Linked DNA regions of Homo sapiens: region 1 is linked to region 2. Evidence: promoter capture Hi-C in 16 types of primary human blood cells and fetal thymus (Javierre and others, 2016). All regions are on one chromosome and are shown on one strand. The core of a region is centred on a gene start or on the middle of the fragment in contact, and the rest is flanking DNA. Distances in the headings are between cores, read along the strand shown. Region 1 has its middle 22 kb from the start of SMTN. Region 2 holds the start of MORC2 (MORC family CW-type zinc finger 2).

The links. Contacts are between HindIII fragments. The CHiCAGO score rates a contact against its expected background, and 5 or more counts as called.
Region 1: a fragment that was not itself captured here is called in contact with the fragment with the promoter of MORC2 in region 2 in 2 of 17 cell types (megakaryocytes and endothelial precursors); the score reaches 8.4 in megakaryocytes.

The regions. Positions count from the first base shown.
Region 1 is chr22:31,057,010-31,061,587 of GRCh38, reverse strand. It overlaps the pseudogene RN7SL633P. Among named protein-coding and RNA genes, the nearest start is that of SMTN, 22 kb to the left of the region's middle. The HindIII fragment of the contact is 9,959 bases long and covers 1-4,578 here.
Region 2 is chr22:30,967,524-30,972,126 of GRCh38, reverse strand. It overlaps MORC2 (MORC family CW-type zinc finger 2), which reads left to right and starts at 3,353. Exons shown (of 26, transcript NM_001303256.3): 1 at 3,353-4,305. The coding sequence starts at 4,238. It overlaps TUG1 (taurine up-regulated 1), which reads right to left and starts at 2,862. Exons shown (of 3, transcript NM_001396518.1): 1 at 348-2,862. The coding sequence starts at 2,770. The coding sequence ends at 2,309. RefSeq lists a silencer at 2,342-2,591 and an enhancer at 2,622-2,951. The HindIII fragment of the contact is 3,441 bases long and covers 709-4,149 here.

The DNA.
Region 1 (4,578 bases), core at 1,333-3,832, 90 kb before region 2:
CCTGCCTCGGCCTCCCGAGTAGCTGGGATTACAGGCATGCGCCACCATGCCCAGCTAATTTTGTACTTTTAGTAGAGACAGGGTTTCTCCATGTTGATCAGGCTGGTCTCGAACTCGCGAGCTCAGGTGATCCACCCACCTCAGCCTCCCAAAGTGCTGGGATTACAGGTGTGAGCCACTGCACCCGGTCTCTAGCTCTGTCTCTTACTTGAATGTGATCTCACCCTGTGTGACTCAGCTTCCTCATTTGGAAATCCAGGTCTCACAGTCAGGAAGTAACTTTTTGGATACCTTACACTGAACACTGAAGGTTGCATAAGAGTTGGTTACAGGCTGGGTGCAGTGGCTCATGCCTGTAATCCTAGCACTTTGGGAGGCTGAAGTAGGTGGCTCATCTGAAGACAGGAGTTTGAGACCAGCCTGGCCAACATGGCGAAACCCCGACTCTATTAAAAATACAAAAATTAGCCAGGTGTGGTGGCACTTGCCTGTAATCCCAGCTACTCGGGAGGTTGAGGCAGGAGAATCTCTGGAACCCGGGAGGCAGAGGCTGCAGTGAGCAAAGATTGCACCACTGCACTCCAGCTGGAGACAGAGCAAGACTCCGTCTCAAAAAAAAAAGAGATACACTCCAGGTAGATGGGACTGCATGAGCAGCGGCTTGGGTTAGAAATTACGGCAGCATGGATGAGAGACACCGTTCTCATGTATTTTGTTTCAGGAGGACAATAATAATACTTGTTTATTGTGATGACAATTAAATAAGATAATGCAGGTAAGGTGCTTAGCAGAGGCTTGTACATAACCAACTCAGTAATGGTGCTTGTTTTTACCGCCATTTTTGTTGTTGTTTTTACAAATAAAGAAAACAAAGGCTCTGATAGGTGATATGTAGGCCAGGCACACAGCTATTGGTTGTTGAGCAGGATTTGAACCCACAGCTTTTATTTATTTATTTACTTATTTATTTACATTTTTAAATTTAATTTAATTAATTTTTTTTTTGAGATAGGGTCTCACTCATTGCCCAGGCTGCAGTGCAGTGATGTGATCTCAGCTCACTGCAACCTCTGCCTCCCGGGTTCAAGTGATTCTCCTGCCTTAGCCTCCTGAGTAGCTGGGACCACAGGCACATGACATCATGACCAGCTAATTTTTATATTCTTAGTAAAGACAGGGTTTCGCCATATCGGCCAGGCTGGTCTTGAACTCCTGACCTCAAGTGATCCGCCTGCCTTGGCCTCCTAAAGTGCTGGGATTACAGGCGTGAGCCCACTGCGCACAGCCTATTTATTTACTTTTAGAGACAGAGTCTCACTATGTTGTCTAGGGTGGAATGCAGTGGCTATTCACAGTCACAATCCCACCACTGATCAGCACAGTTTTGACCTGCTCCATTTTCATCTTGGGCCTGTTCACCCCTCCTTAGACACCCCTGCTTACAGGAGGTCACCATATTGAAGCTGAACTTAGCACAGACACTCGATCAATATAGTACACTACAGCCTAGAACTCTTGGGCTCAAGAATCCCTAGGCTTATCCTCCTGCCTCAGCCTTCCGAGGAGCGCGAACCACAGGGACACACCACTGTTCCCAGCACCATATCTTCTTGACAGAGACCAGGCTCTGAACCACTGTGTTCAAGTTACCCCACTGTGGGGCCTCTGTTCCTGCCCTAGGGGCCTCCCTGACTCAGCAACTGTGGGTGGCCTTGCTTCTGTGCCTGGACAGCAGAGGAGGTGAGAAGCCTTCCAGTGCCTTGAAAACTAAATACGGCCAGGCCAGGCCTCTGAGGCCCGACCCTCAGGCTTGGCCTGCTCCTGCCTGCTCATATGGGCTGTGGGGCGCTACTCCCTACTCAACTTCCTGGCTCTGCTCCAGGGGGCTCTGGCAGAACCTCCATCCAGATCCTCCTTCTCAGGATCTTGTTGGGAAAAATACTAAAAGAGAACATAAAATGAATGCCTCTTATCCATGCTGCAATAATTCCTAATTCTAAGACTTTGCTCAAGTAATTTGGTCCATGGAGTACCTCTCTAATCAGTGCTTAATGTGTCTTTGGTGGCCAGTGTGAGCTATCAGGAAGAGTTACTTTATAACTGTGAGACCTGCAGTAAGTCACTCATCTCATCCATCCACCCATCCATCCATCCATCCATCTACCCACCCATTGGGCACCTACCTGTGCCAAACACATTACATACAGACTCTTCTTCCAGACCGGAAACTCCATGAGAATTGCAGACCAGGTGTCAAAAGATAATTATTCAGGGCAGGCATGGTGGCTCACGCCTGTAATCCCAGCTCTTTGGGAGGCCGAGGTGGGCGGATCACTTGAGGTCAGGAGTTTGAGACCAGCCTGGCCAACATGGTGAAACCCTGCCTCTACTAGTAATGCAAAAATTAGCCAGGCATGGTGGCATGCATCTGTAATCCCAGCCACTTGGGAGGCTGAGACAGAGGAATCACTTGAATCCAGGAGGTAGAGGTTGCAGTGAGCCAAGATCGTGCCATTGCACTCCAGTCTAGGCAACAGAGTAAGACTCTGTCTCAAAAAAAAAAAAAGAAAAAAGAAAGATAATTATTCAACCAATATCCATGTGTCTCAATGTGTCTCCTCCAATTTATATATTGAAACGTAATCTGCAATGTGGTAGTATTAAGAGGTGGGACTTTTGGGGGCGATCACTTCATGAAGCTCCATCCTTATAAATGGGATTAGTGCCCTTATAAAAGAAGCCTGAGGGAGTTTGTTCACCCCTTCTACCATGTAAAGACATAGAAGACGTCATCTATGAGGAACAGGCCCTCATTGACACCCAATCTACTGACACCTTGTTCTTGGATTTCTCAGCCTCTAGAACTATGAGCAACATATTTCTGTTGTTTATATATTACTGAGTCTGAGGTATTTTGTTATAACAACAGGAGCAGACTAAGACAATGAACCAATGGGCCAAGGCTTGTCCTTACTACAGTCCTGGTAAGGCTGTTATCATTATCACCCCCATTTCACAGTTGAGAAGCCCGACACTCAGAGAGGGGAAGTACAAAGAACATACAGCCAGAGATGAGTGGAGCTGAGACTTGGCCAAGTTCTTAACCCTCCTAACAAAGGGAGGAACCATGCTGAGGGGCAGGCCCTGGAGGAGGACACGGACCATTTCTCCTTCAGCTCTTGGCTTCCTTGGTGGGAAGTGGATTAATTCTTTCTCTTGTCTCCCTCCTAACCAAGCCTTTGAGGGTGCCCAGCTCAGAGTCTACAAAGTCCTTTTCAAGGTTTCCAGAGCCCTCCTCTCAGCCCTGTAGGGGATTCAGGGCGGGGGGACCTTCCCCATGGTTCAGATGGGAGAATTGAGGCCTCTGTACTGCCCACAGTCACATGCCATATTAGGGGCCTGGAATCTCATGCTTCAAGAAACTGAGCATGGAACTGGCTGCTAGATATTTCCTGTAGGTGTGGTATGAAGCGCTTAGAGTCTGACAGGTCCTAGCTCTGCCACTTACAAGTTATGCAGTCTTAGAGGAATCACTTCACCCCTCTGAACCGCAGACTTCTCCCCTGAATAGTGAGGACAGTGCTAGTACCTATTTGAGAGATGTTGGGAGGATGAAATGAAAGAATGCTTGTGAAGCACTTAGCGTAGTACCTGGAACATAGTGAGTGCTCCAACAATGAGGTTATGATGGTACGAAGTACCTAAAACAGAACATCAGACTGGTAGGAGTATCCATGCTGAGGGTAATATTAGCTAATGTTTCTCTTTTTTTGAGACAGAATCTCGCTCTGTCACCCAGGCTGGAGTGCAATGGCCTGATCTCGGCTCACTTCAACCTCCACTTCCCAGGTTCAAGCAATTCTCCTGCCTCAGCCTCCCATGTAGCTGGGATTACAGGCACAAGCCACTATGCCCAGCTAATTTTTGTATTTTTAGTAGAGACAGGGTTTCACTGTGTTGGCCAGGCTGGTCTCCAACTCCTGGCCTCAAGTGATCCGCCCTCCTTGGCCTCCCAAATTGTTAGGATTACAGGCGTGAGCCACCATGCCTGGCCAGCTAATGTCTTTTTTATTGCTACTATGTACCAGACACAGTCATCTGGACAATATCCCTCTAACTTAGTGCCATTTTACAGATGTGATAACTAAGGCTTGAAATTGACTTGCCCTAGCTCCTTGCCCAGCAAGAGGAAGAGTCTGGGCCTGAACCTGAGTCTAAGTCCATGATCTCAGGAGCTCTGATCCACTGTCTTGGATTCTCCAACTCCATTATGTTGAAGCCAAGAGAGGAAAAGGGAGTTTCTCAGGGCACCATGGAAGGTGGGGGTAGGGCAGACCACACTGGGGAGGAATTTTTTCTTCCTGGCAGCTCTTCATGGGTCTGGATAATTCTCCAGCTTTAGGATTAAGGCAGAGCCTGACTAGCACATTCATAGTCCTCTGGAAGGATCCAGGGATCTGGCTTTTAGTCTCAGGCCAGCTAGCAGATTCCATTTCCACTCCCCCGACCCGAGCTTTAATGACACCTTCAGCCCCTACTCTACTCTGTGACTGCCCGTTCCCCACCCCCAGCTTTAAT
Region 2 (4,603 bases), core at 2,104-4,603:
TAAATGCATCTTGATATGTTGTGGTGTATGTGGGCAAAGATGCACTAAACAAGGACCCTGCTTTCAAGGAGTCTGCTATCTGCAAAGACAGTAAATGCAGGCAAGTAACTATTTTACAGGATTTTGTATACAGATAGAGGATACATAACGAAATGTCATAAAACTTTAAAGCTCTATTCTGGCTAGTTAGGAGACTCATGGAAAAGAGGGCATAAGAGTTGGATACTGAGAAAATGGCAGTTTTGACAGATGAAAAGCCACAGAGCAGCAGTTCCAAAGTAGAATGAGAGTATGAACAAAAGTGCAGAGATGGTAAAGGATAAGGCATTTTGGAAAATGGCAAGTACCATAATTCACTTTGGATGGAGCATCCTCAGTTTGCACTGAGGGTCTGGACAGAAACTCAGGTCTTCTAATTCCCAGTAACAGTGCTGGTGGTAGTGCTTGCTCAGTCGTTGTCTCTTTTCTCACAGCAAGGTCAACAGTCCCAAAATTCAAAAATAAAAAAAAATCTACCTCCAGTGTTCCTGCCGCATCGTGACAAGCTCTTTCGGGTTCCAGGTCCAGGTCTTGAAAATCTGGAAATCTGGAGTCCATGGCTGTGGCTACACTGAAAGTTATCTGCTCCAACTATTGCAGAACACTGTAGTGAAATCTTTTCAACCTCCAATCCTGGACATCTCATGTTTTGCCACAGAATTTCAAGCTTTGAGTTCCAGTTGTTTTTTTTCCCTCCTTTCTGCTGAGGAAAGCATCTTATCACCACAGTCTTAAGTCTTTTGAGGTACATCCGGATTTAATTACAAAAGAGCAAAAAGACCAACACTTTTTTTTCTCCAAGTCATTTCTCTGGAAGTGAGATTATCTGTCTCTGCCCTTTAGGAAAAGGGAATAGTCAATTGATTTTTTCAGACATTTGAATGAAATAGCATAACTGGCTAACATCTAATCAGACAAAATACACTTAAATGTGTTTGTGTTCACTTGCTTAGGGCTGTACCACTTGGTGAGCACCACTCCACAAAACGAAAATGTTTGAAATCCAATTGTTCAAACATTTTTATAGTGTTTGTTGGATAATGGCCTGAAATTTGATAAAAGCAGCTGACAACTAACAAAGAAGCAAAAACTGGCATCTTGGACATCCTAGTATTACACTTGCAAGCAATTAGAACACAAGGAGGGCCAAGGAAAAAGTTTAGCTTTGAATCACTTCCAAATCTACTGATTTTGAGGTTCCGCAGTAGTTCTAACAAAACTTTTCAGACAATGTTAACTTTCGATTAAGAAAGAAAAAAACCCCAAACATCTTCAGGAATTCCATGCCAGGTTCAGTCTCTTCCAGTGAGCCCGCTTGCTAAAAGTCCACGTGCACCATTAATTAGCTGGGCTGGCAGCACCATGTAAAAAGAAGCCTATTCACCACCAACCACACAGCCTAGACATGTAAAGTAGGATCAAGTAATGGATGACAACCATGGTCGTGGAATATGGTCAATGAGAGTCAGAAAAGTACAGGCACCAGTACAAGCAGCAGATAACAGAGTTGACGGGCCAAAGGATAAAATAGGCTTATTTAAATAGGATGCTACAGAACACATCCACTCCTAATTGTAGCTGCTTTACACTGGGTGCCATTGTACCATATGCATCAGCCACCCTTCAGGCACCCCATGGTGAAAGAAAAGGATTCAGAATAGAAGCCAAGCAGGGGACTGTTGTTAACCCCGAATATCCATTATGCATAGAAACAGCTCACATATCCCAGGGACTCAAACAGGGCTTCAAAATGGTTGTGAAGGGTCCCAAATGACATCTAGGCCTCAGTTTCCTCTCTGTAGCATGAAGAAATTGTGATTCTTAACTCTTCTGGGTCACAGCCCCCTTGGAAAACTTGCTAGCGATGGATCATCATTCCCCTAAAACGCACATTCCCACAAATTCCCATCATTCCCCCAAACCGCACATTCCCACAATTTCAGGAAGTTTGGGGATCCCCAACTCCAATCCAAGGTTCCCAGGTTCAAAACCCAAGGATTGGGGAACTGCTAAGTTTTCTTACAACTCAAAAAAAATTATAAACAATAACCATCCTTTACGTACACCCACGCTTTATAGTTTACAAAGCGATTTCAACCCCACACACATTGATAGGCAGAGGAGGAAACTGAGGCGCAGACAAATTACAGAGTGACTCGCCTAAGGTCACTCCGCCAACTGGTGGCTAGGCCCGGAAGAAAACCCAGCTCTTCCGACTCCGGAGCTCGTCTCCCCACCCCGGGGCTGCCGCCAGAGCTCCCGCCCCTCACTAAGGCGGCATAAGGAGGAAAAGGCAAAGTAGAAATCCCACAACCAACCATCCTCCGGCCCCCTCCTGCCCCCCCAACTGGGTCCTTGCAGGCCCCGAAGGGTGGCGCCAGGCCTCCAAGCCGGCCCCGGCCACCCCCGCCTCCCCGGCCGCTCCAAATCCCGCGGCCGCTGCCGCCGCCGCCTCCCCCGGAGCGGGGCGGAGCAGCTGCCCGCCGCCGCCGACCACCCGGACGACTCCTCGTCGAATCGCAAACGCATAGGCCGCCGCCCGAGTTCTGCGTACGAGAAGAAAGACGCGGCGCGAGCGCCAACGGCCACCGGGCGCGCGCCGCGGCGGCCGGGCCTGCGCCCCAAGAGCTGGATGCCAGAGCAGGAGAAAGAGCCGCCAACCGATCGCTCGATCGACCGCACGCCCGTTCCTTCGCCCTACCAGACCCGGGAGGGGGGGAGGGCGCGCCAGGGCTTCTTCGATTTAGGGGCCTGACTCCCCGGCGACGAGACAAGATGGCTCCTCCGGTCCGCACCGCAGCTACCGTCCCGGCTGCGTCGCTCGGCCCGCCCCCGGTACTGTTTCTTTAAATGGCGGAGAGGGTCAGGAAAGCAGGAAGAGAGGCGCACGCTGTCACGTGACAGGGGCGGGACCGGCCAACCAAGATCCGGTCACATGGGGACACGCAGCCCGCCAATCAGGAGGCTGTACATCAGGGCGGGGGCGGGAGGAGCTGCAGCTTTGTGATTGGCTGAATGCTCCGCGGAGGCCTCGGGGGCTTGGGGCGTCGGGGAGTGTGCGAGGTGGCCGGGGCTGTGTGCACTATCGGAGACAAAGCGGTGGCTGTGGTGTCTGTGACGGCGGCGGCAGAGCAGCTCTAAACGCCGAATTTCGTGTTGCTGAATCCTGTCACCATCTCAACTAGCGCGGCGCGCGGGCGGCGCGCGGGCGGCGGCGGAGGCAGCGGCGGCGGCGGCGGAGGCGGCAGCAGCACATGGTTCCAAGAGCGCTCTGCGGCTGTTGGGTTCCAATTCCGCGGGGAGGGACAAAGGCAGTTGTGAGATCCGGGTAGTGCCCGGTCAGGTGGTGCGCTCGCCACTGCCCTCGATCCGGTCCTTGGAAGCCGGGAGTAGCTCCTCTTCGTGGGGAGGCGGCCACGGGACCGAGGCCCGGGAAGGGCCTGGGAGGCTGAGGCTGTTGTCTGAGGGACGTGGGGGCGGGGCGCGGCCTGCCCGAGGTGCTGTGGGCGGGTCATTTGTGAGGTGTTTATGTGGGCCAAGTGTGAGGTAATCTGACCACCACCCTGAACTGGGTTTGGTCCGGCTTTGAAAAAAGAAATCGTGAGTGCCTAGGAGCTTTTTCACTTGGGAGGTGGTGAAGCTGCAACTTGCGCCATATAACACTCCGTCGACATCTTGGTCTCCGGTCTTGGGCCTGTTTAAGAATCCTGGCATCACGTGTGGCGAAGACATGGCTGATCAGTTTTCTGACAGAAGTGGGTAAATTTCCGCGTTGGTAAATTTCCTGACAGGAAATTTCGGGGAACCAAAAAAGGCTGGAAGAACATGAAGATGGAGCAGTCATAAACCACCCACTCAAGGACCATCTCCTTCAGGACCATCCACACGAGACTCAGATTGTCTGAATTGAGCTATCGCAACTTAATGCTAAAAGCTCCTTAAAGCTACAGATTTATGACATAGTTCCTTCCAAAATATTACATCATAAATCATTGAGAAGATTAAAAAAAAACACTTGAAGAAATTGTAGTTTTAAACATCTCTGCATATATTTTGGATAGCTACTAGGTTACTTTAACTGTCATTAAGGAGCACAGACTTACTGAAGCTTTACTGGACAGAATCCTGGGAAATCGATATCATTATAAGGTTATATTTCCCAGTTAGCGGGTGAAGGGCTGGAGACCTTATTGCAGTCATGGCTTTCACAAATTACAGCAGTCTGAATCGAGCTCAGCTAACCTTTGAATATCTGCACACAAATTCGTAAGTATCCTCTAGGTGCCACTGAGGTAACCAGTAACTCGTTCCTTGATATTATATGGAAATCGTTTCCCCAGAAAATTTTGCTTTTTCACTTTTTGAGATGTATCCCACTGGAGTGAAATGTGTCACTGGATATCTTGAGCTCTGTATTGAAGAACTGAGATCAGTGAAATACTTGTTGCTAATCCAGAAGAATCTGATTTTTGTTTATTGGATCAAAATTTTCTAAATGCAAACTTTAGTTATTTGAAGTCAATATGTTGAGTTGTTTCATTCAAGTGTTTATAGGAATCCAACA